Regions from separate parts of the Homo sapiens genome. Here all the other regions are linked to region 3. Evidence: promoter capture Hi-C in human tissues and cell types (Jung and others, 2019). All regions are on one chromosome and are shown on one strand. Each heading gives the region's core, a stretch centred on a gene start or on the middle of the fragment in contact. The rest is flanking DNA. Distances are from core to core; before and after follow the strand shown. Region 1 holds the start of ATP6V0A1 (ATPase H+ transporting V0 subunit a1). Region 2 overlaps RETREG3 (reticulophagy regulator family member 3). Region 3 holds the start of RAB5C (RAB5C, member RAS oncogene family). Region 4 overlaps ATP6V0A1 (ATPase H+ transporting V0 subunit a1).

Region 1 (5,692 bases), core at 867-3,366, 300 kb before region 3:
TCCAAGTTCTCCTAATTCACTGACACAACAATAAGCAGCCTCTGACTGTAGAAAAAGCTGGGCCAGTGTCATTTCTTCACTCCGGAAAAGCTCCCCCATGGTGGCAGAAGGTACCAGTCTAGTGAGTACCTGGATTTCTCTCCAACCTGAAGCAAAGAGAAAATGACATAACTTTGGAAATTACCACGAGGGCTAAGAGCAAATGACACCCCACTACGGCTCTTGCATTTACATTTCTAACACCCCATGAGGACAGGTCAACAACTGTTTTTGACACCCTGTCTAGAAAGATGGAAAGGAGAAATTGCAAAGGCAGTTCCTGAATTCTGTCCCACAGAGTGTCAGATGAAAAGTCACTTCCATTCCAGTCAACATCAGGATCAAATGACAATTATTTTGGGCAACTCAACTGATAAGAATGTATCCAGATTAAAGACAGGAACTGGGAACCTCAAACAACTCTTTAAATACCCAGGACACAATATTGAGGCAGTGAGTTTCACACTGCTCAATCTGTTTTTGCTAGTGCAGGAAACAAACAGAAGAGGCCTTCAATACCCTCTCATAAAGATGTCTGCCTTGTAACTATCCTTCTCCCTTCTACTGACAATGCGCATTTCTAAAAGCCCAAAGTTCTGGCACTATCCTAAAGCTATGGCTACACTAAAGGGTTTAATCTTCCAGATTCCTCAGAAAACAATATTTCCCCACTTAGGAATTCAAACAAATAACCGTCATCTGGAAAAAGCAACCAGTTTGCATATTAAGCTCAATTTCAAATCAAGCATGACAGGAACACACTGATAATGACAAAGCAGTTTTATCAAGCCACAGAGAATAAGCCTTCCACCTCTGCAGCTTTCTGTTTCTCAACCCTACCTTCAAGATTAATTACATTCTTCCATCTGTCAAATCTCATGAGCCAATAAAGGTTTCGTTTTAGTGCTGTCTTACTGTTGCCGGGTATGAGACAACTGGCGCTATCAGTGGTCCTGAAACTGCAATTATTTATTCTCGATCAGCTAATGTAAGGCACAGCCTGTCCAGTATCCAAACTCAGAAAAATGCACAGTATTTTTAGTGTCATAAGGGCATCTATACTGAGTACTGATAGATGAGTCTGACATCAAAGGAAGATTTACTCTTCTGGAAGGCTGGGAGACATTTTGAGAAATCTGAACGAACAAACCTTTGTGCATGTGATGTTCAAGACAGTAACACAAGCTCAGACATAAGCAAGGACTTCTCAAGAGAATATGCAGGCTGACTTTAAGATTCTGTACATCTGAATCATCCAAATCAGCTGTTACCGGCACCACCCTTAAACAAAGAGAGATTCTACAACCTCTAAACACATAAAATTAGGCCTGGTCAGCATAGTTCAGGAGCTGTGGATAATGATAAGCCTCCAACGAGTCGCCTCCGTCCTCCTGCTCTTTAATGATTATAGGTCTCCCAAGAATATCTCTATAGCAATGGAGGCTAACAGAAAACTAATTAGGCCAAAGTAGTTCTGGACGATCACAAAACAAAATATGAAGAAACAGCAATTCTGCAAAAGATGAGTCCAACTACAGCGCCCCCGCGCCCTGCCTAGAAGAATCTCACTCCTGTCATCCGGTCCTCGCCTCCTCCCACGGTATTCACCTGCTTCATTTCCTGTCTACCCAATGAGCAGGAATTCTCTGGACTCAGGCTCATCTACCTTGAGATGGGAAAAAAGGAGAGGAAAACCCCCAAACTGAGAAACCCTTTAAGAAGCCCCCTAAATTCTTCTGCCTATCCAATAACCTCCGGTTCCTCCGCCTACCCCTTAAAGCAGGGAAGAGATGCGGGGCTTCCAAAGGGCAGTGAGCCTCCGGTTCCTCAGGGCAGAGGAGGGGTGCCCAAGGAGGGGGCGAACCCCCATTTTATCTCGAAGACGTCAGATCCCCGCTAATTCCTCTGACAATCAAGGGGGCTCTTAGAAGGATTTCCTACGTCCATCGAGGGCCGCTCCCTGTTGCGCTAAACCTACAGCCCCCACTCACCTCCAAACTCCGCCACAGCAACCGCCACAGAAACCACCGCAGCCAAACCCGCACCCTCCGCGGCTCCAGGAGCAGCGCTTCGACGTGCTTGCGTCCGTAAAGCCCCGCCCCTGCGCCGCCGCCGGCCCCCGCCCCCGCAATGACCTCATTGCAGTTGGCCAATGGGGCGCAGCCTCGCCCGGGCTGCAGCAGTGCGGAGTCACGGGGGTCGCAGGCGAGACCCAGCGTGCTGACGCCATGTTGGCCCCTGTGCTGTATCTCCACGCTGGGGAGGGTTAGCGGGTGGGGCTGGAGGTGCAGGTGCTCGAGGCCTTAAGTTCCTGAGCCTCCCTGAATCCTTTTTCTTACCCCTTATACTGGGGTAGGTTGTCTTTTCTCTTTCTTTTTTTTTTTTTGAAGTCTCATTCTGTTGCTCAAGCAGGAGTGCAGTGGCGTGATCTCGGCCCACTGCAACCTCCACCTCCCGGGTTCAAGCGATTCTCCTGCCTCAGCCTCCCAAGTAGCTGGGACTACAGGCACGCACCACCATGCCCGGCTAATTTTTGTATTTTTTTTTTTTTTAAGTAGAGACGGGGTTTCACTATGTTGGCCAGGCTGAGTCTCGAATTCTGACCTCGTGATCCACCCGCCTCGGCCTCCCAAAGTGTTGGGATTACAAGCGTGAGCCACCACGCCCGGCCTTTTTTTTTTTTTTTTTTTTTTTTTTTTAGATGGTCTGTTTCCCAGGCGGGAATGCAGTGGCGCGTTCTCGGCTCACTGCAGCCTCCGCCTCCCGGGTTCAGGGGATTCTCCTGCCTCAGCCTCCCTAGTAGCTGAGATTACAGGCACGCACCACGCCACCCGGCTATTTTTGTATTTTTTGTAGAGATGGGGTTTCGCCATGTTGCCCAGACTGGTCCTGGCCTCCACCCGCCTCGGCCTCCCAAAGTGCTGGGATTACAGGTGTGAGCCACCGCGCCCGGCCCTCTCTTTATTTTCATATCCAAAGAATTAATTCACACATACGCACCCAAATAATTAATGTCTTCTCTCTTTATTTTCATATCCAAAGAATTCACACACACACTCAAATAATTAATACGCAGACACATATACCACCCTTTCTCTTTTCCCTTATTTTACAGATGAGAACATTTGAGCCCCAGACTGGGGAGCGGCTAGCTTTAGATCCTGTAGTAGAGTCTTTAACGGGGTCTCATTTGCATAAGTATGGAAAACCTCTCTTTAAATGGTACATGGTTCATGCCTTCCAGCAACTTCCCCGGGTCTATTTTTCTCTGTTTAACAGGAAAAACCTCATCAGACCATATGTTGTGAAAGTACATTTCAGTCTTGTTTGGTAGATTCATGTGGGCTCAATTGACCACTTAGGAGTTTTCAATTCCTCAAATTTATTTTAAAAACATTTTTTATGGCTTGTACTCAACTTGTAAATTAAATATTGAAAAACATTTTTTAAACGCAAAAGTGATGTCTATTATTTTTTAAATGCCATTATCAAATATTGATATTGATTCCCTTTTCTTGCCCTTTTAAAGAAGAGTAGGGATCTCAAGTCGTTTGTGATAACCAGAATTGTATCAGGAAAAACTCAGAAAACCGGTTATTCTGTCTTCCTGGGTGGTGGAACCCTGTTGAAATTCAAGTGTAATGAGGGAGATATTCCAGATAAAAACTTGTTGCTGATAATTTTGTCAACCTGACAAAAACATCATCAAACCTGCTTTACCAGCCTAAACAAAATAAGGGGACAAAAATGGACGTTTTATTTGAATTTATTGTCTCATATTGTGAGTGAAGATATAACCTGACTTCAATACAACCTTCTTAAGACACAGAGTCTTGGAGAGACCCATACCCTCCTTCTCCCTGCTCCCTAGCTCTCAACCCTTCTGGCAAGACAGATCGGGACCCACATTTAAAAGCCTGCCAAGTTAGAGAAAACTGTTACACAATATCATTTCCTTCCTCTGAGACTTAAAAAAAAATTAACCTCAGTCAGCTGCTTGCTAACCACAAATTTTTCATACTCCACTTTTAAGACAGCCTTTCCTGTGGACTTACTTCAATTCCCTTGAACTCTTTTCACGGCTTCTTTGAAAGAATATTGTTTCAGAACTCCTTTTCTGTTTGCTTCCATCTCCTGCCATCAATCTTTCCTCAGTGTTCTATTTATTTTCCCTCCATGCTGTCTTCCTTGATGGTCTTGAGTGTTGTCAAGCTTAAACGTTTATGTGTAGGACTCTTATCTGTTTTTCCACCTGACTTCCTTCTTCAAGACTCAGAAATGGAATTTCATACTGCCTGCTTGATAGTGCCTTTTAGGCAGCAGATGCTTGCTGAGGGCCTACTGTGTGCCAGAGAGGGGTACTAGGTGCTGGGGATAGAAAATGAAACAGACATGCTTCTTATCCTTGGAGAGCTCATGGTTCAGTGAGAAAGAAACTTCCCAAATGGCAAGAGAGAGAGGAGTGCAGTGATTAATACTTACTATGTGCCAGGCACTTTTCTACATGCTTGGTAAATACAAACTCATTTAATCCTCACAACAACATTAGGAGGCAGTTACTATTATTATCCCCATATAACAGATGATATGGTAAAACTGAGGCATATGTCCAATAAGATCAAATTTAAAATGCTGTTGACCACACCTACAGCCCTAGAAGACATGAGCAATTCCATATGAGGCTTGGCCAGTGACACAGTTCCGAGTATCTAAACCGAGCTATTCCCTAGCATTTGTGAAAATGGCTAAAAAACAATTAAAGCCAGGTGTGGTGGCTCACGCCTGTAATCCCAGCACTTTGGAAGGCTGAGGCGGGTGGATTACCTGAGGTCGGGAGTTTGAGACCAGCCTGGCCAACATGGTGAAAACTCATCTCTACTAAAAATACAAAAAATTAGCTGGGGATGGTGGTGCATGCCTATAATCCCAGCTACTCAGGAGGCTAAGGCAGGAGAACCACTTGAACCCAGGAGGCGGTGGTTGCAGTGGCCAAGATCGCGCCATTGCCCTCCAACCTGGGCAATAAGAGCAAAACTGAGTCTGAAAAAAAAAAAAACAGTTATAAAGATTAGTTCTTCACTACCACAAAAAGAATAGAACAGAGGTAGGGATCTAACTGATAGAGTCTCAAAATGTTACAAGAATTGTCACTGTAGTGAAATTATTAAATGTGGTTTTTTATCTTTAATTTTTAGTTTGAATGAATGCGTGTCAATTGTCCAAATTTCCACCAGTGAAGAATCAGCTAGCTCATCTTAGCTTATCCCACTTAGATTCCTAGATGGGGCCTAGAGGAGAGTTTTAACGTTAAGCCCGGTGTTTTGAAATACGTATCTGCTCCAGTGTCTTCTCCACAGGCTTCCAGTATTCGTTTCCCTAAGGCTGCCATACAAATAACCACAACCTGGGTAGCATTTAAAACAACAGAAATCAGGTCAGCCGAGGTGGCTCACGCCTGTAATCCTAGCACTTTGGGAGACCGAGGCCAGCCTGTCACCTGAGGTCAGGAGTTCGAGACTAGCCTGGCCAACATGGGGAAACCCCATCTCTACTAAAAATACAAAAATTAGCAAGACATGGTGGTGGGCGCCTGTAGTCTCAGCTACTTGGGAGGCTGAGGCAGGAGAATCACTTGAACCCAGGGGGCAGAGGC
Region 2 (4,917 bases), core at 1,215-3,714, 450 kb before region 3:
AATGTGGAAGAGTGACTGACTGTTCAGTTAACAAACATTTTAAATGTTTAAGAAAGGGAGGAGGATCATTAGCTCAAGTCAGAAAAATCAAATCTGAAATATTTAGTTTCTCTTTTATTGTATTGAATAATGGGACAAAAATGACATATCATTAACTGAGATTTTTATGCATTTTGAGGTATTAGGAGATAGGAGTACAAAAAAAAACCCATCAGAATTCAGGTAGGTAGCTCTTAATTTTCAGTGTTTTGTATCCTCAGTCATATTTTGCCGTAACTGTGAATATGCCCTCTTACATCTTAAAAAAAAAAAAAAAAGATGGAGATAGATGTAGATACCTTGTCACCATAGTATTCCAAGGTTTTCATACTTTTTTTTTTTTCAGGTACCAGAGAATTTATGGTGGCCATATCAGAGGTCTTCCAGCCTAGATTACTTCTGGTCACTGATCTGTTATTGTCTCTAGCATAATAATAGAAATGTCAGGCCGTTCCTTCCAATAGCTTGTGTTTTCATTAGTCTCAACCTCATCTGTGAATGAGTGATTTGGGGGAAGAATGTGAGAGTCAACAAGCATGTATCCTGACAGGATCAGAAAAGAACAGGTTTGGGTAACTTTTTGGTTTGACTTGTACTCTGAGATCAGAGGAGGGTAAATGAACACTGGAAATGTGTGAACTCCAAGCTCCCTCTCCCACCTAACATGAAGAGATAGTTCAAGGAGGCCTACATAACTGCTGAGCTCTTTCAGTTTTTTTTTTTTTTTTTTTTTTTTGCTGGGGAATCGGGGGTTGTTGGGCTGGACAGGGTCTCCCTCTGTTGCCCAGGCTGGAGTGCAGTGGCACAATCATAGCTCACTGCAGCCTCTACCTCCTGGGCTCCAGCAGTCCTCTTGCCTCAGTCTTCCAAGTAGCTGGGACTAGAGGCACATGCCACTGGGCCCAGCCTATTTGCAAAACTTTTGTAGAGACAGAATCTCAATATGTTGCCCAGGCTGGTCTCAAACTCCTCATCTCTAACAGCCCTCCCGGCTTGGTCTCCTAAAGTGCTAGGATTACAGGCATGACCCACTGCACCTTGACTGCTTTGTGGTTTTTAACAATCTGTGAATCTACATAGTCTATGAATTAGGAATATTGTTTTGGAGCAGTCCACAAGCTGAGTCCCAAGTAGAGATCTCTGTTGGGATCTGCTTTTTGCAGTCACTAGTCTCAGTGAACCATACTGTATTTCTAGGAGGTTATTATAGAATTTGTTATTTCACAAATGAAATGTAAAAATTTTATTTTTGTCCGCCCCCCCAAAAAAATAAATAAATAAAAATGACCCAAAAAAGTGATTAAGGATATACAGCAATTCTGAGTTAGAAGGTTAGGATTTGAGTAAAAAATAATAGAAACAAGAAATGGAAGATGGGGAGCCCATTTAAGTAGAGATATTTGTTCTGTTAAAAAAAATCTACACATCTGATTTCTTTTCTTTTTTTTTTTTTTGAGACGGAGTCTCGCTCTGTCGCCCAGGCTGGAGTACAGTGGCGCGATCTCGGCTCACTGCAAGCTCCACCTCCCGGGTTCACGCCAGTCTCCTGCCTCAGCCTCCCGAGTAGCTGGGACTACAGGCGCCCGCCACCATGCCCACCTAATTTTTTGTATTTTTAGTAGAGACCGGGTTTCACCGTTTTAGCCAGGATGGTCTCAATCTCCTGACCTCGTGATCCGCCCGCCTCGGTCTCCCAAAGTGCTGGGATTACAGGCGTGAGCCACCGCGCCCGGCTACACATCAGATTTCTAATGAAATCTGTTGAGTGAATGTTCCTGATGATAGTCTTTGCAGGGTTCTTGTCTTTGTGAGCCGAGAAGACTCCCAAGGATGCCTTGGTTTATTTACTTCCCCTCTCTTTACCTTTAGTTTTTATCTGCCCTAATTGTATGGTTGAGTGCTTTCTCTCCACTGTTAGCAGCTAGCTGATTTCATTTCTGGTTTTTTTGCAAGCAACAACTGTCACTGCATGATATAGGTTGGGTTAATTTTTCCTTTGAATTTACCGGTGACTTGGGCTCATTAACCAGGCGGTCACAAGTGCTGTACAGTAACAGGCTTTCTGTCCCTGTAGAATGGGATGCTTTGTTTTGAAGTGCCCTTGAGACAATCTTAATCTGTAATAACAAAGGAACCTAGAAATCATGTCTTTGAAAATAGACATGTGGTCATTATTTATGATTATAGCAAACTTTAATTTACTGGTACTAATAGTGAGGCTCCATGGTATAGTTAATCACAAAAGTTTATGTTTGGTTCTGGAATTTCTCACGATGTTTCTGGACACCAATTGCTATTCCAGGGATATTTTATTTAGACTGATCATTTAATTGGATTTTAGTCCCTGACAGAGTGGAGGGACAGTTCACAAAAGGGGAAAAAAAAATCAATGGATATATAAAATTTCACTCTCACAAATAAGAAAAGAATTCAAATATATGTAAATGGAAATTATTTACTAATTTCTATCTTAAGTTTTTTTTTTGGCGGGGGACAGGATCTCACTGTCGCCCAGGCTCGAGAGCAGTGGTGTGATCATGGCTTATTGCAACCTCAACCTCTGGGCTCAAGCCATCCTCCCACCTCAGCCTCTCAGGTAGTGGGGACTACAGGTGTGTGTCACCACACCTGGTTAATTGTTTTGTATTTTTCGTAGAAACAAGGTTTCACCATGTTGCCCAGGCTGGTCTTGAACTCCTGGGCTCCAGCAGTCCACCCACCTTGGCCTCCCAAAGTGCTGGGATTACAGGTGTGAGCCTCCACACCTGGCCTTAAGTATTTTTAATGATCATAATTAATTCTGGGGAAAATATGGAAAAATGGGCATATGGCTGATAGGAACATAAATTGGACAGCCTTTCTAGCAAGTAGTTTGGTAACATATTTTAAGCCACTTAAGAAGCTTTTCCAGGGCTGGGGGAAATGGAGAAAGAATACTAATGGGTATGGGTTTCTTTTGGAGTGATGAAAATGTTCTGAAATTACATAAGGCTATTAGTCGTACAGCATTGTGATTTTTTTTTCATCTCTGCTGCTGGCAGATGAATTGAAAGAGAATTTTATCGTATACAAACCATTATCTCAATAAAGCTATTTTCTTACTTTTTTTTTTTTGAAACGGAGTCTTACTCTGTGGCCCAGACTGGAGTGCAGTGGCATGATCTCAGCTCACTGCAACCTCTGCCTCCCAGATTCAAGCAGTTCTCCTGCCTCAGCCTCCCAAGTAGCTGGGACTACCGGCGTGCACCACCATGTCTTGGCTGATTTTTGTATTTTTAGTAGAGATGGAGTTTCACCATGTTGGCCAAAGTGGTCTTGAACTCTTGACCTCAAGTGACCCACCTGCCTCGGCCTCCCAAAGGCTGGGATTACAGGTGTGAGCTACGGTGCCCGACCAATAAAGCTATTTGTTTAAAATAGTTAATGCCTTTGACCCAGTAACATGCTCAGTGATGTATAGTTCAGCTTTTATTACATCAAAAAATTGGAAACTTTTGGCTGGGCGCAGTGGCTCATGCCTATAATTCTCAGCACTTTGGGAGGCCGAGGCAGGCAGGTCACCTAAGGTCGGGAATTCAAGACCAGCCTGACCAACAATGGAGAAACCCCATCTCTACTAAAAATGCCAAATCAGCCGGGCATGGTGGCGCATGCCTGTAATCCCAGCTACCTTGGGAGGCTGAGGCAGGAGAATCCGTTGAACCTGGGAGGCAGAGGTTGTGGTGACCCGAGATCGCGCCACTGCACTCCAGCCTGGGCAACAAGAGCAAGACTCCGTCTCAAAAAAAAAAAAAAAAAAAAAGTTGGAACCTTCTTAGTTTATTTTTCGTTTATTTTTCTTTTCTTTTTTTTTTTTGAGAGAGTCTCGCTCTGTCTGTTGCCCAGGCTGGAGTGCAGTGGCGCGATCTCGGCTCACTGCAAGCTCCGCCTCTCAGGTTCACGCCATTCTCCTGCCTCAGCCTCCCGAGTAGCTGGGACTCCAGGCGCCCACCACCACTCCCGGCTAATTTTTTGTATTTTTTAGTAGAGCCAGGGTTTCACCGTGTTAGCCAGGATGGTCTCGATCTCCTGATCTCGTGATCTGCCTGCCTCAGCCTCCCAAAGTGTTGGGATTACAGGCTTGAGCCACCGTCTTAGTTTATTTTATTTTATTTGAGATGGAGTCTTCCTGTGTTGCCCAGGCTGGAGTGCAGTGGCACAATCTCAGCTCACTGCAACCTCCGCCTCCCGGATTCAAGCAGTTCTCCTGCCTCAGCCTCCTGAGTAGCTGGGATTACGGGCACCCGCCACCATGCCTAGCTAATTTTTGTATTTTTAGGTAGAGATGGGGTTTCACCATGTTGGCCAGGCTGGTCTTGAACTCCTGATGTCAAGTGATCTACCTGCTTCAGCCTCCCAAAGTGCTGGAATTACAGGTTTGAGCCACTGCGCCTGGCCCATTCATTGTTTTTTTTGAGAGAAGGTTTCACTCTGTCACCCAGGCTAGATTGCAGTGGTGTGATCATGGCTCACTGTACCCTGGAACTCCTGAGCTCAAGTGATCATTCCACCTCATGGCTGATGAGACCACAGGAGTTCATCACCACATCAGGCTAATTGTCTATGTATTATGTGAAAAAGTTTTAAAACCATAGTGTTTTTATATGTGAATTTTTTAATGAAGAGAATAGCCTGTCTTCACACTTTTTAGAGTACATATGTGGATAATGGATCATTTTAAAAATATTTTATTATGGAAAGCTTAAAACATGTGTAAGTAGGCAGAATAATATTGTGTGCCACCATGTACATAATATTATTTTTTTCAATTCCTGGCCAATTTTGTGTCTTCCATACCCCAGTTCTTTTCTACGTCTTCCTTATTGTTTGACACAAATT
Region 3 (5,429 bases), core at 754-3,253:
GGCCTGGACTGCTCCAAAACTCGCCCAGGTCTCCAGCTCTCCTCTACCACCCAACACCCTGGGCTCACTTTTGGATAGGAAATAAACTCTTTATTTTTGTAGTTATTGGCTCTGGGTGTTTCTGGGGGTTACTCTGAGAGCCCCAGGGCTTTGGAGGAGCCAACACAGCAATCACTCCCCACCCTCACCTTCGTTGTACCCCAGGGCCCAGTTGCTATCTCTAGGAAGGGCAGAGGCACCAGCCAATCTACTTGGCACCACATTCACACCACCAGGGGCCCCAGGGTTGAGGAAGAAACTTAATTAGTCACTATGGGCCTATTATACCCCCTTCTCTCCCCTGCACCCCAGTCACAGCCATGTATGCACACAGTATGTGGGAAGGACAGAGTCCTGGCTTTGGCCCACCTCCAGCCTTGGAAAGGTGGGCCTAGGGGACTACCCATCCCTCCTGTATAAGGAACTGTTCCAGAACTGGGTATGGCAAGGGGGCTGGGGGAAGAGCTTGTCACCAGCCAGAACCTGCTAGGAATCCCACTCTGCCCCATCCCCTCTGTCCTCCCAACAAGCCCTCTCTTCCCTCTTCCTTTTCACTTCTCATGAACACTGGCGCGGAAGTGGGGATTGTGTGTTATGGGTGTAAGAAAGAGAGACGCCCTGATGACCAGATGGAACTAGATGTGGGCACAGTTTTGTGGCAGGTTGTCCAAGACAGGTAAATTCTCCAGCTGAGGCTCCAGGATATGCCTGGTGTTGGCGTTATAGGCACAATGGCCACAGCTGTCTCCGGTGAGCTTTGATTCCACACAGGTTTTCAGTAGTGTCCCTTGAGGATGAGATGCAAAAGAAGAGGAGGTACTGGTTTGTGTTGAGAGGTAAGGGTGGGAGGAATCAGGAGCGGGCCCAGTCCATATTGAGAGGAGCAGAAAAAACAAATATTCCTGATCCATAGAGGGGGAGAGTGCAGAGTGGGGGTGGTTCTAGTCTTTATTTACGGATGGAGAGGGCCGAGGCAGAGGTTGTCCAGCTCTGTATTCCGCGTCAGAGAGAAGAGCTGACCCTGGCTAGGAGCAGGGGAAGGCAGAGGCAGAGATGGTCTTTGTGCCGGCCCCCGCACACACCAAGTAGGAGGTGGTGGCAGAAGCTCTCCCTTTGATCTCACCCAGCATCCTGCAGAGAACTCTTCCTGCAGCGCTTTCCTCACCTTCCCAATCACAGACGCCCCTGGCAATCGGGCGGACAGTGCAGACAAGGGCTTCTCCAGATCAGCGAGTTCACAGGACTGAGGCCTCGCGTGCATATTCATTCGCACCACGTTTTTTCTTTCCCAATTCTGCACACACAATCCTCTGCCTTCTTCCAACGCTCCACCACCCGCCTTCCCTCGGGGCGTCCGGAACCGGCGGTGACGCGGATGGCAGGGTTAGCCTTAAAAAGTTCCCGGCCGTAGGCTGGGCGCGGTGGCTCAGGCCTGTAATCTCAGCACTTTGAGAGGCCGAAGAGGGCGGATCACCTGAGGTCAGGAGTTCGAGACCAGCCTGGCCAACATGGCGAAACCCCCGTCTCTACTAAAAAATACAAAAATTAGTCGGGCGTGGTGGTGCGTGCCTATAATCCAGCTCCTCGGGAGGCTGAGGCAGGAGAATCGCTTGAACCCGGGAGGCAGAGGTTGCAGTGAGATCGCACCACTGCACTCCAGCCTGGGCGACAGAGTAAGACTCCGTCTCAAAAAAAAAAAAAAAGTTCCGGCCGGGCTCCGCCTCGCAGTCAGCCGGCTCCACCCTAAGCCCAAGTCCCAGGCAGCCACTGACTCCTCCCAGCGCTGCGAACTACAAGTCCCGCGATCCCTCGCGCGCTCCCTACCGCCACTCCCGCGTTCCTACCGGCGCCGCTGGGTAGGTCGGCCAAGAGTGCCTCCCATTGGTCTCCGCACTGTCAATCACCTGGGAGTATTGAGGGGCGGGGCGGAGGTGGAGATCCGGATCCGGAGCGGCTGAAAGGCGGAAGTGGAGGCCGGAGCCTGGGACACCGCCGGCGGGGAGAGAAGCGGATCCCGTCCGAGCCCCGGCCCCAAGTAACGCCGCCGCCCCGGAGCCGCCGTGAGTATGCTTGTCCCAGGACCTGGTGTCTCGCCTGCGTTGAAGCATCTCCAGGGCAGCCCTTCCTCCCGCCCAGCCCCAGTTTAGGGGGATACTGACCCCTCCCCCGACCCGTAGCCCCCTCTTGAGGGGCTCCCCAGGCGTCGGGCCATAGGAGGTGGGGAGCTTCTTTCCTTAGCTTACCTGCCTTTGGTGAGCCTTAAGGAAACCGCTATGACTGTCCTCTGGCCTGTCCATTCTAGTTGTGGGAGAGAGGTACCCTAAGTTCCGCTCCCCCTGCTTCCAGAATCGGAGGATCTTTGCTAGGTGTGAAGGAACCTGTCCCTCTTCTCTTTTAGAAGTGACAGGGAGTGCTGTCTGTCGCCGTTTTCCTTCCTCCTGTCCCACAAAACCAGTTGTCCCCTCTAGCCCTAGAGGAATATCTCGATTTCCTTTGGGGGAGGGGGGTCGTCTGGGTGAGACCGTTCCACACGCACAGAAGTGTGTGTGCGCTCCCGCAACTCCTTACTTCCTCTCTTTCCTCAAGCCAGAGAACCAACCAGGACCTCAGCTGAGTTTAAAGTCACTTACTAGAAATGAGCTGTTTTCCTGTTTTGCCCCTTCTGTCTCCCAGCCCTGTCCTCTAGTTATGTTGTTCTTTGAGTGTCTCTCTCTTTCTGCCTCTGAAGAATTTAGCTGAGGTTTGCTCAATCCTAGCTACAGATCACAGATCAGGGTGGATGTGCCCATTCATTATCTTCTTTCCCCTCCCCCCTTGCTCCAGGCTCAGCTCTGTCCTCCCAGAGCACGTGAGTGGTTTCCCAGCCGCCTCAAAGGGACTGCTTTTCTTGGGACTGCTGTCCGTGTGTCTATAGGGAGGAGAATAAGACCCAAAATGAGGAGTCTGGAATTGAAGGGCCATCTCTTTCCCACTCCCAAACACACACACATACACCTCCCTGAGCAACAGGTCCACACCACGCCAGGGTCTGTCTGCAATCCCTTCAGGGCTTGGACTTATTACTGAGGACTAAGTCAAGATCACAATGGCAGTTCTGGATTTTTAATTGTAGCCTGAGGAATTCCGATACATGCCAGAAAGTGCAGGTTCCCTCAACCATATTGACTGATCCTTGTCTGTTGCTTGGGGCTTAGGTGTGTGAAATAGCTGCTGTCTCAGACCAAGCTTTGTTATGTGGCCAAAGTACAGGCCGGAGACTGTACCTTAACGAGGAGTAGCCTGGCTCTGAGGCCATGACTGACCCTTGCTATCTACAGTGGAGGAAGGGACGGAAAGCCGTGCAGTTTGTGGGAACTTCTGTAGCTCTTCAGTGTTCTGGGCTACCTTTACCACCCTCGCTTGCCACTTAAAAGTGCTGTGTTTTTTGGCCTTGAGGTGTGTTTGAGGGCTTCTGGACAGTGGCTAGTATCTGATTCCTACAGTCTTTTGAGTAGAGCTAGGATGTACTTTCTTCACTTTTTTGTTTGTTTGTTTTTGAGATGGAGTCTTGCTCTGTCGCCCAGGCTGGAGTGCAGTGGCGTGATCTTGGCTCACTGCAACCTCTGCCTCCTGGGTTCAAGCAGTTCTCTTGCCTCAGCCTCCTGAGTAGCTGGGATTAACAGGCGCCTGCCACCACACCCGGCTAATTTTTGTATTTTTAGTAGAGATGGGGTTTCGCCATGTTGGCCGGGCTGGTCTCGAACTCCTGACTTCAGGTGATCCACCCGCCTCAGCCTCCCAAAGTGCTGAGATTACAGGTGTGAACCACCGTGCCCGGCCTACTTATTTCACTTTTTATCGGACAACAGAAGAAGCCTTCCTTATTAGGGTCAACAGCTGGATCACAGGCTCTGTATCTGTGTGGGTTCCTTTGGGGTTCATTGGAGACTTCTTCAACCAACCTAGTTTCTCTGATCTGGTCAGCCTGGGCATCTGAGGGGCAGGGCCAGAGAGGCCTGACTGCTCACTGGCCATTGGTCTCTGACCAGACTTAGGTCTTCAGGAGTAGACCGCAGTTTGTCACTCTTCAGGAGTGCTGGGATGAGGCCGACCAGCCTTCTGAGGAGACCTTCTTTTCTTTGTCTGGACATGCTCTCCCAGCTCTGACTCTGAAACGACTTTTTTTTTTTTTTTGGAGACAGAGCCTTGTTTTGTCACCCAGGCTGGAGTGCAGTGGCACAATCTTGGCTCACTGCAGCCTCTGCCTCCCGAGATCAAGGGATTCTCCTGCCTCAGCCTCCTGAGTAGCTGAGATTACAGCCATGCACCACCACGCCCAGCTAATTTTTGTATTTTTAGTAGAGATGGGGTCTCACCATGTTGGCCAGGCTGGTCTCGAACTCCTGACCTCAGATGATCCACCCACCTCAGCCTCCCAAAGTGCTAGGATTACAGGCATGAGCCACTGCACCCAACCTGAAACGACTTTGAAGGGGAAGCTCTGCCATTTAGAGAGACGAGGCAGGCCCCAGTGCTTTGGGTCGTTATGCAGCCACTTCTGGCACCTAGAAATTATAGAGTCCAAGCAGAGGTCTGACTCTGCCTGGCAGAGAGAGCGATGGCTCCGTGTGCGACAGAACCCCTCCTTTCTGATGCTGTTCCTCCCCTGCCCTCTTGCCTCTCACAATTAGAGGGCTGTTAAACTGTAGAGGGACAGTAACACTAATTTTTAAAAATCATTTTAAGGTTGCAAAATTATTTTCATACATATTCCTCATAGGTGCCTTGGGAAATAGTGGGGCTTGTTTCCCCACTTTGTTTTTAATTTTTATTATTACTTTTTTTTTTTTGAGTAAGATAAGGCAAGTGTCCCTGCTTTAGAAGGGATGCAGAAGGAACTTAAGTAGTTTGCCTAAGATCGATCATACATTTAGAAAGTAGTAGAGCTGGGGCTTGGATTTGGGGTCAGATGTGACCTGATCTAACAGTGGGCCCTTCTTCGGCCTGGTTTGTTCGTTAAATGAATGAACATGCAGACTGAGTGCGCCACGGCACAAGGGCAGACTCTTAACTCTTTAGCCCTCCTCATCACTAGCGCTCCTCTGTTTTTTTGTCTTCCCCAGCGTCTACCCGACCTCCTGTCTTCTCTCTTGACCCCTTTCACCTCTGCCTCTGAGGACCAAAACAGTTAGGAGTCCCAAGTCAGTACTCTTCAGGGCCTGAGAGTTTGCTGACATCTACATGTCATTAATTTTTCTGGGAACCTGAAAGTCCTAATGGCTAGAAAATGAAAGTTAAAGTGAGTAAACTCAGGGGTCCCACTGGGCAGGGTTAAGGGGGAAGCAACAGAGCGGGCCTCTGGTTAGTCCTCTGTTTCTCCTGTGGTGCTGCCTGCTGCTTGCAAGTGGGAA
Region 4 (5,061 bases), core at 1,686-4,185, 320 kb before region 3:
TATACATCATACATCCATATGTATATATGACAGGAATTAACTAAGAGGAAGTACTTCAAATTCTCCAATTAGAGCAGAGATAAAGATAATGGCTCCTCTGTGGAAGCACTGGATTCAGGTGGCCCCATGCTACGTTACTGCTCTGGGCTCCCTTTACAAGACCTACTCCACAGGATGCAATCTCCTTGTCTTACAGTCACAGGATCCTCCAGGGGGTTCTCGATTTCAGCCTGTCGCAGGAACACATTTCCCCGGCATACCCGCCAAAGCATGCGCTCAAAAGTAGGGATGCGCTCCCGGTTAATGACACCAGCCACGAAGCTGTGGGGAGAAGAGGCAGATTGGAAACTCTATTCCATGTCATGGGATGGAAGGTTTTAATACAAGTCTTTTTTATTTATATTTATATATATATCTTTTTTTATTATACTTTAAGTTCTAGGGTACATGTGCACAACGTGCAGGTTCATTACATATGTATACATGTGCCATGTTGGTGTGCTGCACCCATTAACTCGTCATTTACATTAGGTATATCTCCTAATGCTCTCCCTCCCCCCTCCCCCCACCCCACAACAGGCCCCGGTGTGTGATGTTCCCCTTCCTGTGTCCAAGTGTTCTCATTGTTCAATTTCCACCTATGAGTGAGAACATGTGGTGTTTGGTTTTTTGTCCTTGTGATAGTTTGCTGAGAATGATGGTTTCCAGCTTCATCCATGTCCCTACAAAGGACAGGAACTCATCATTTTTTATGGCTACATAGTATTCCATTGTGTATATGTGCCACACTTTCTTAATCCAGTCTATCATTGATGGACATTTGGGTTGGTTTAATACAAGTCTTATTCCCAGCTTCACTTATGGACCCAGCAGAGAGCTGACAGAGCAACTCAGGCATGAATCCAGAGTTGTAGGACTATCTCAATAGGCTCAGAAGAGGGCATATCCTGGTAGCAAGTGAATCCCCAGTCTCACTGCTCTTCTGAACAGAAGAGATGAACATGGCCCCACTGAATACCGAAAAGTTGACATGGCACTTACCCAAGTCTTAAAGGAGTGCCTCTTCCCATCTCACTTGGCTCCAAGAGGGATGAGGACTCTTCCAACAAGTCTGGATCCGCCATCTGCTGATGATGCAATTCAGCCTGAATTCACAAATCAATTAATATCTAATGAAAATAGTTAGTGGCATGCAGGCAACGAGGAACCAGGAGACAGGTTCAGAAAATAAGGATGAAAAAGAAAACAAACCACGAAAAGACAAGATATATCCATAAAAAGACAAGAAGAATAGGGGATGAAAACACAGAAAATAAATTTGAGGTAAAGAAAGCATAATTGCCCCAGTAAAGCATCTGGGGAAATGGTTTTAGAAATAAGGAGCAAAAGGAAAAAAAATTAAGTGATGGTGACATGTATAAATCTGTTACTTGGTGGAAGCCATTTTCTCTCCTACGTTTCCCTGAATGAATGATGAAAGTGCCAGGAAATACCTCTGCATGTAGATAGGAAGCTAAAATATCTCTTCTTTCTGTGCAATAATGAAGAGACTCTGCAGATACTCTGAACATTTAATTTCTAGGCAGCTACAAACTAGAATTTTCCCTACGTGAGAATGTGAAAGATAGAGGCTCTCTTTCCAAGGAAGAAGCAAGGCACTGCCACTGTCTTTGAATGCTGTGAAGTCTGGAGAAAGACAGAAGGGGAAGCTCCAGGTATCTACGTTTCCAGCCCCTTTAAAATTCAGAATATGAGAACTTTCAGCATGGCCACTTATAGAATGATCCAAGCCATGGGATTTAAAGAGTATTTATGTCTTCAAAAGGATAAGAAGCACAATAGCTGGGCAGGCCTGTAAAAACATATCTGAATGTCCCATTTTCTGACTAGGAATCTTCTAAATAAGTTCACATAGGCTTTACAGTTGTAGGATTCTTGAGAACACAGCTCAAGAATCAAGTAAAGTGAAGGAAAAACAACAGATAATAAACCAAACTAGAGTTCATGGGCTGGTTTAATTGGTAAGATTTAAAATGACTTCCACCATGACAGTTTATACAATGAAATGAAGAAGGATCTTCCCACACGCAGGTCTACATTTCCTAGCCTCTCTCTACCGAACTCATCCTACCACCCTTTACTCCCATCAGAAAGGAGAAGCTGCTCCAAAAAACAAAACAAAACAAAACAAAACAAAAACCAGTCCAATCAACTTCTCCATTGCCTCATCTCCCCAACTCTAATACCCAGGCAATACTTGTTTGACCAAAAACTAGGAGTAAACCAGAACAATCATCCTCTTCAAAAGCACAATAAGACAAAAAATCAGAAGAGTTTTTCTCTATCATTTTCATTCCAAATTTCAATTTGATTCTACCCCTGTCAGCCACACTCTTAAAAAGTGGCACAGGGACCATAACTTGATAAAGTCATGGGATCATAAACATAGCAAAAAGGGGGAAAAACTGTGTATAAACCAGATGATAAGTCTGAAGGCCTAAAAAATAGAAAGCAATCATTTTGGGAAGTAAGGATCAACACCAGAAGTGCAGAGAAATACTGTCATGAGATTGGAAAAGTTTAAGATGAGATCATGGAGACACTAGTTACCACTGGCTGTTACATGTAAGTTGAGGGGGTTCTTTCGGTTTCTACTTGCAATCAAATCAGCTGACTACAAGCAACTTGTTTTCAGGATCCCGATGATTACAACATTTCAACTTGTTCTTGGTTTATCCCTTGGCAAAAACCAGTGAGCCTGACTACTCACAAGACTCCATCCTACTTGCCTGCCTGTCTCACAAGACGTGGTTTAAGTCAACCCTAAATATCGGACTCAATGCAAACACATGTGCTCTAACTGATGGAAAAGCAAACAGTACTTAGCAACTAGACCACTTCAAAGACTCTATCTAGGACTCTCTGAGAATAAAAAACAACAAAATTAAAATTCAACAGAAACTTGCGATAATATTTGAATTGCTAATTTCACCACTTCATACTTAAGAATTCTATCTTAGAGAGAAAAGTTACAAATTTTTAAGTAAAATTGTGCCTGGTGAGAAACTAGGATGACTAGAACCACTCACTAACTGAAGGCCTTTAAAGCAGTATCTAAAACCATGTGGTTGAAAGTATCTAAATCTTAGAGCAGGGGTGTCTGATCTTTTGGCTTCCCTGGGCCACATTGGAAGAAGAACTGTCTTGGGCCACACATAAAATACACTATAATGATAACTAATGAGCTAAAAAAAAAAATTCCAAAAAAATCTCATAATGTTTTGAGAAAGTTTACGAATTTGTGTTGGGCCACATTCAAAGCTGTCCTGAGGCCTGAAGGCCATGGGCTGGACAAGCTTGTCTTAAGGGTATCTGGGTTCTCTAATAACAACATTGTGAATATGCCTCTACATTACTGCTATGCCCTCTGGTTTCTCCATTCAGATACTGAAAACCACGCCTTACAAAAAGGAAGTAGAAGAACTTCAGTTCTGTTTCTACAGCAATTAAGTATAAATAGCACATCCAGTTCAAGCTATGTCAATTACCAAGAACAAACAATTACTGCCATCTACATCGAGAAAAAAATTATATTTCATTACTTAAGGTATTCACCTAGGCCCCAAAGGAAATGGCAGATGGGAAAAAAATAAAGAAAGCAGATGGATGGAAAACTGAGAAGGAAAGGAAAGCAGGGAATCTGCATGCCATTAACCATTACTTTTCCAGTCTTCTTTATGTTCTCATATGTTATGGTGCTTATGGTAAAAGATGCAGAGAAATCTCTCCAGCTCTTACAGTTCTTCATAAGCAAGAAGACTTAGAAAAGGATAATCATTAACAAGTCATTTTAAATGCCCTAGATAAGAAATGACTAAGTCAAATTTGTAATCATCTTTAATCATAAGACTATTCAATATGTTTATTTTTCACCTTACACACACCCTGCCAATCATAACTCCTATGCCTAAATATAGAATCATTTTCTGATTTAGCCATTTCTGCTAACTCATTACTGTGAATTATTGATTATAGTCACCAAATTACACAAAATAAGGGGTTTAAAACTGGTAGTGTTTTAGGCCCTTTGCAAATATTATAATTTCAGACACAGAAGAAAATCTCATTAAAAATCCTAAGTTTCCAACATTTGAGGGTCCCAAGTGTCCTATCTTTCGCATTATTTGAAGTGCACGCGCATGTGCAGATGCAAAGTTGTGGCAGTGACACCTGAGCCTGCTGCTACGCAGCAGCAGGGCAAGGTCTATGGAAAGGAACCTGGCTGAGGCTGTGAGCTAGTGCAAGAACAGGCAAGGCAGAGAGGTTCTTGCCAGGAGACTTGCAATGCAGTGAGACTGCTGGGAATGGAAGGGGAATTGATGACAAAAGCAGCATAAGAACCTCTCATAGCCACGGTCTTGTGCTCTAAGTACTTCCAGAGACTGGAAAAAAAAAAAAAGTTTTGAATAAAATAGGAGGGGGAGGCTGGGTGCGGTGGCTCACACCTGTAATTCCAGCACTTTGGGAGGCTGAGGCAGCTAGATCACGAGGTCAGAGTTCGAGACCAGCCTGGCCAATATGGTGAAACGCCCGTCTCTACTAAAACTACAAAAATTAGCTGGGCATGGTGGTACACACCTATAGTCACAGCTGCTCGGGAGGCTGAGGCAGGAGAATCGCTTGAACCCGGGAGGCGGCAGTTGCAGTGAGCCAAGATCGCACCACTGCACTCCAGCCTGGATGACAAAGCGAGACTCTGTCTCAAAAAAAAAAAAAATAGGAGAGGGAAAACAACCCCAGCATGAAAAGGGCACAAAGATCATGAAGACTTAGAGTCTGCCTTCTCAAAACAGGCATTTAGTGTTTAGACTTATTATTCACAAAATAAAAGTCCTAAATCCATAAATTATGATTTTAAAATATCATTTTTCCAAGTGGTTCCTCTTATTTTCATTTTTACTAAGTTCTTTTCATTAGAAAATTAATAGTTTAAATAATTATTTCCCTTAAGGGAATCCATCTATCAGTCTTTATTCGGAATTTCTCCAAAAATGAACCATA

Evidence for each region. Contacts are between HindIII fragments. The study calls those that stand out against the background at their distance.
Region 1: a contact is called between the fragment with the promoter of ATP6V0A1 here and the fragment with the promoter of RAB5C in region 3, in 2 of the 25 tissues and cell types used here (dorsolateral prefrontal cortex and spleen).
Region 2: a contact is called between a fragment that was not itself captured here and the fragment with the promoter of RAB5C in region 3, in 4 of the 25 tissues and cell types used here (H1 embryonic stem cells, heart right ventricle, lymphoblastoid cells and 1 more).
Region 4: a fragment that was not itself captured here is called in contact with the fragment with the promoter of RAB5C in region 3 in 1 of the 25 tissues and cell types used here (liver).

Annotation. Positions count from the first base shown.
Region 1 is chr17:42,455,302-42,460,993 of GRCh38, reverse strand. It overlaps ATP6V0A1 (ATPase H+ transporting V0 subunit a1), which reads right to left and starts at 2,116. Exons shown (of 22, transcript NM_001130021.3): 1 at 2,031-2,116; 2 at 1-146. The coding sequence starts at 99. RefSeq lists a silencer at 2,047-2,256 and an enhancer at 2,407-2,496. The HindIII fragment of the contact is 16,608 bases long and covers 1-5,692 here.
Region 2 is chr17:42,600,553-42,605,469 of GRCh38, reverse strand. The region is part of intron 1 of RETREG3 (reticulophagy regulator family member 3); the gene reads left to right. Among named protein-coding and RNA genes, the nearest start is that of RETREG3, 6.4 kb to the left of the region's middle. The HindIII fragment of the contact is 8,726 bases long and covers 1-4,917 here.
Region 3 is chr17:42,151,563-42,156,991 of GRCh38, reverse strand. RAB5C (RAB5C, member RAS oncogene family) reads left to right here and starts at 2,003. Exons shown (of 6, transcript NM_004583.4): 1 at 2,003-2,099. It overlaps RAB5C-AS1 (RAB5C antisense RNA 1), which reads right to left and starts at 2,592. Exons shown (of 3, transcript NR_187282.1): 1 at 2,283-2,592; 2 at 1,884-1,993; 3 at 69-1,224. KCNH4 (potassium voltage-gated channel subfamily H member 4) reads left to right here. Exons shown (of 17, transcript NM_012285.3): 17 at 1-101. RefSeq lists enhancers at 1,735-1,844, 1,727-2,021, 1,931-2,551. The HindIII fragment of the contact is 20,335 bases long and covers 1-5,429 here.
Region 4 is chr17:42,473,723-42,478,783 of GRCh38, reverse strand. It overlaps ATP6V0A1 (ATPase H+ transporting V0 subunit a1), which reads right to left. Exons shown (of 22, transcript NM_001130021.3): 6 at 1,042-1,124; 7 at 195-321. Among named protein-coding and RNA genes, the nearest start is that of ATP6V0A1, 17 kb to the right of the region's middle. The HindIII fragment of the contact is 4,239 bases long and covers 816-5,054 here.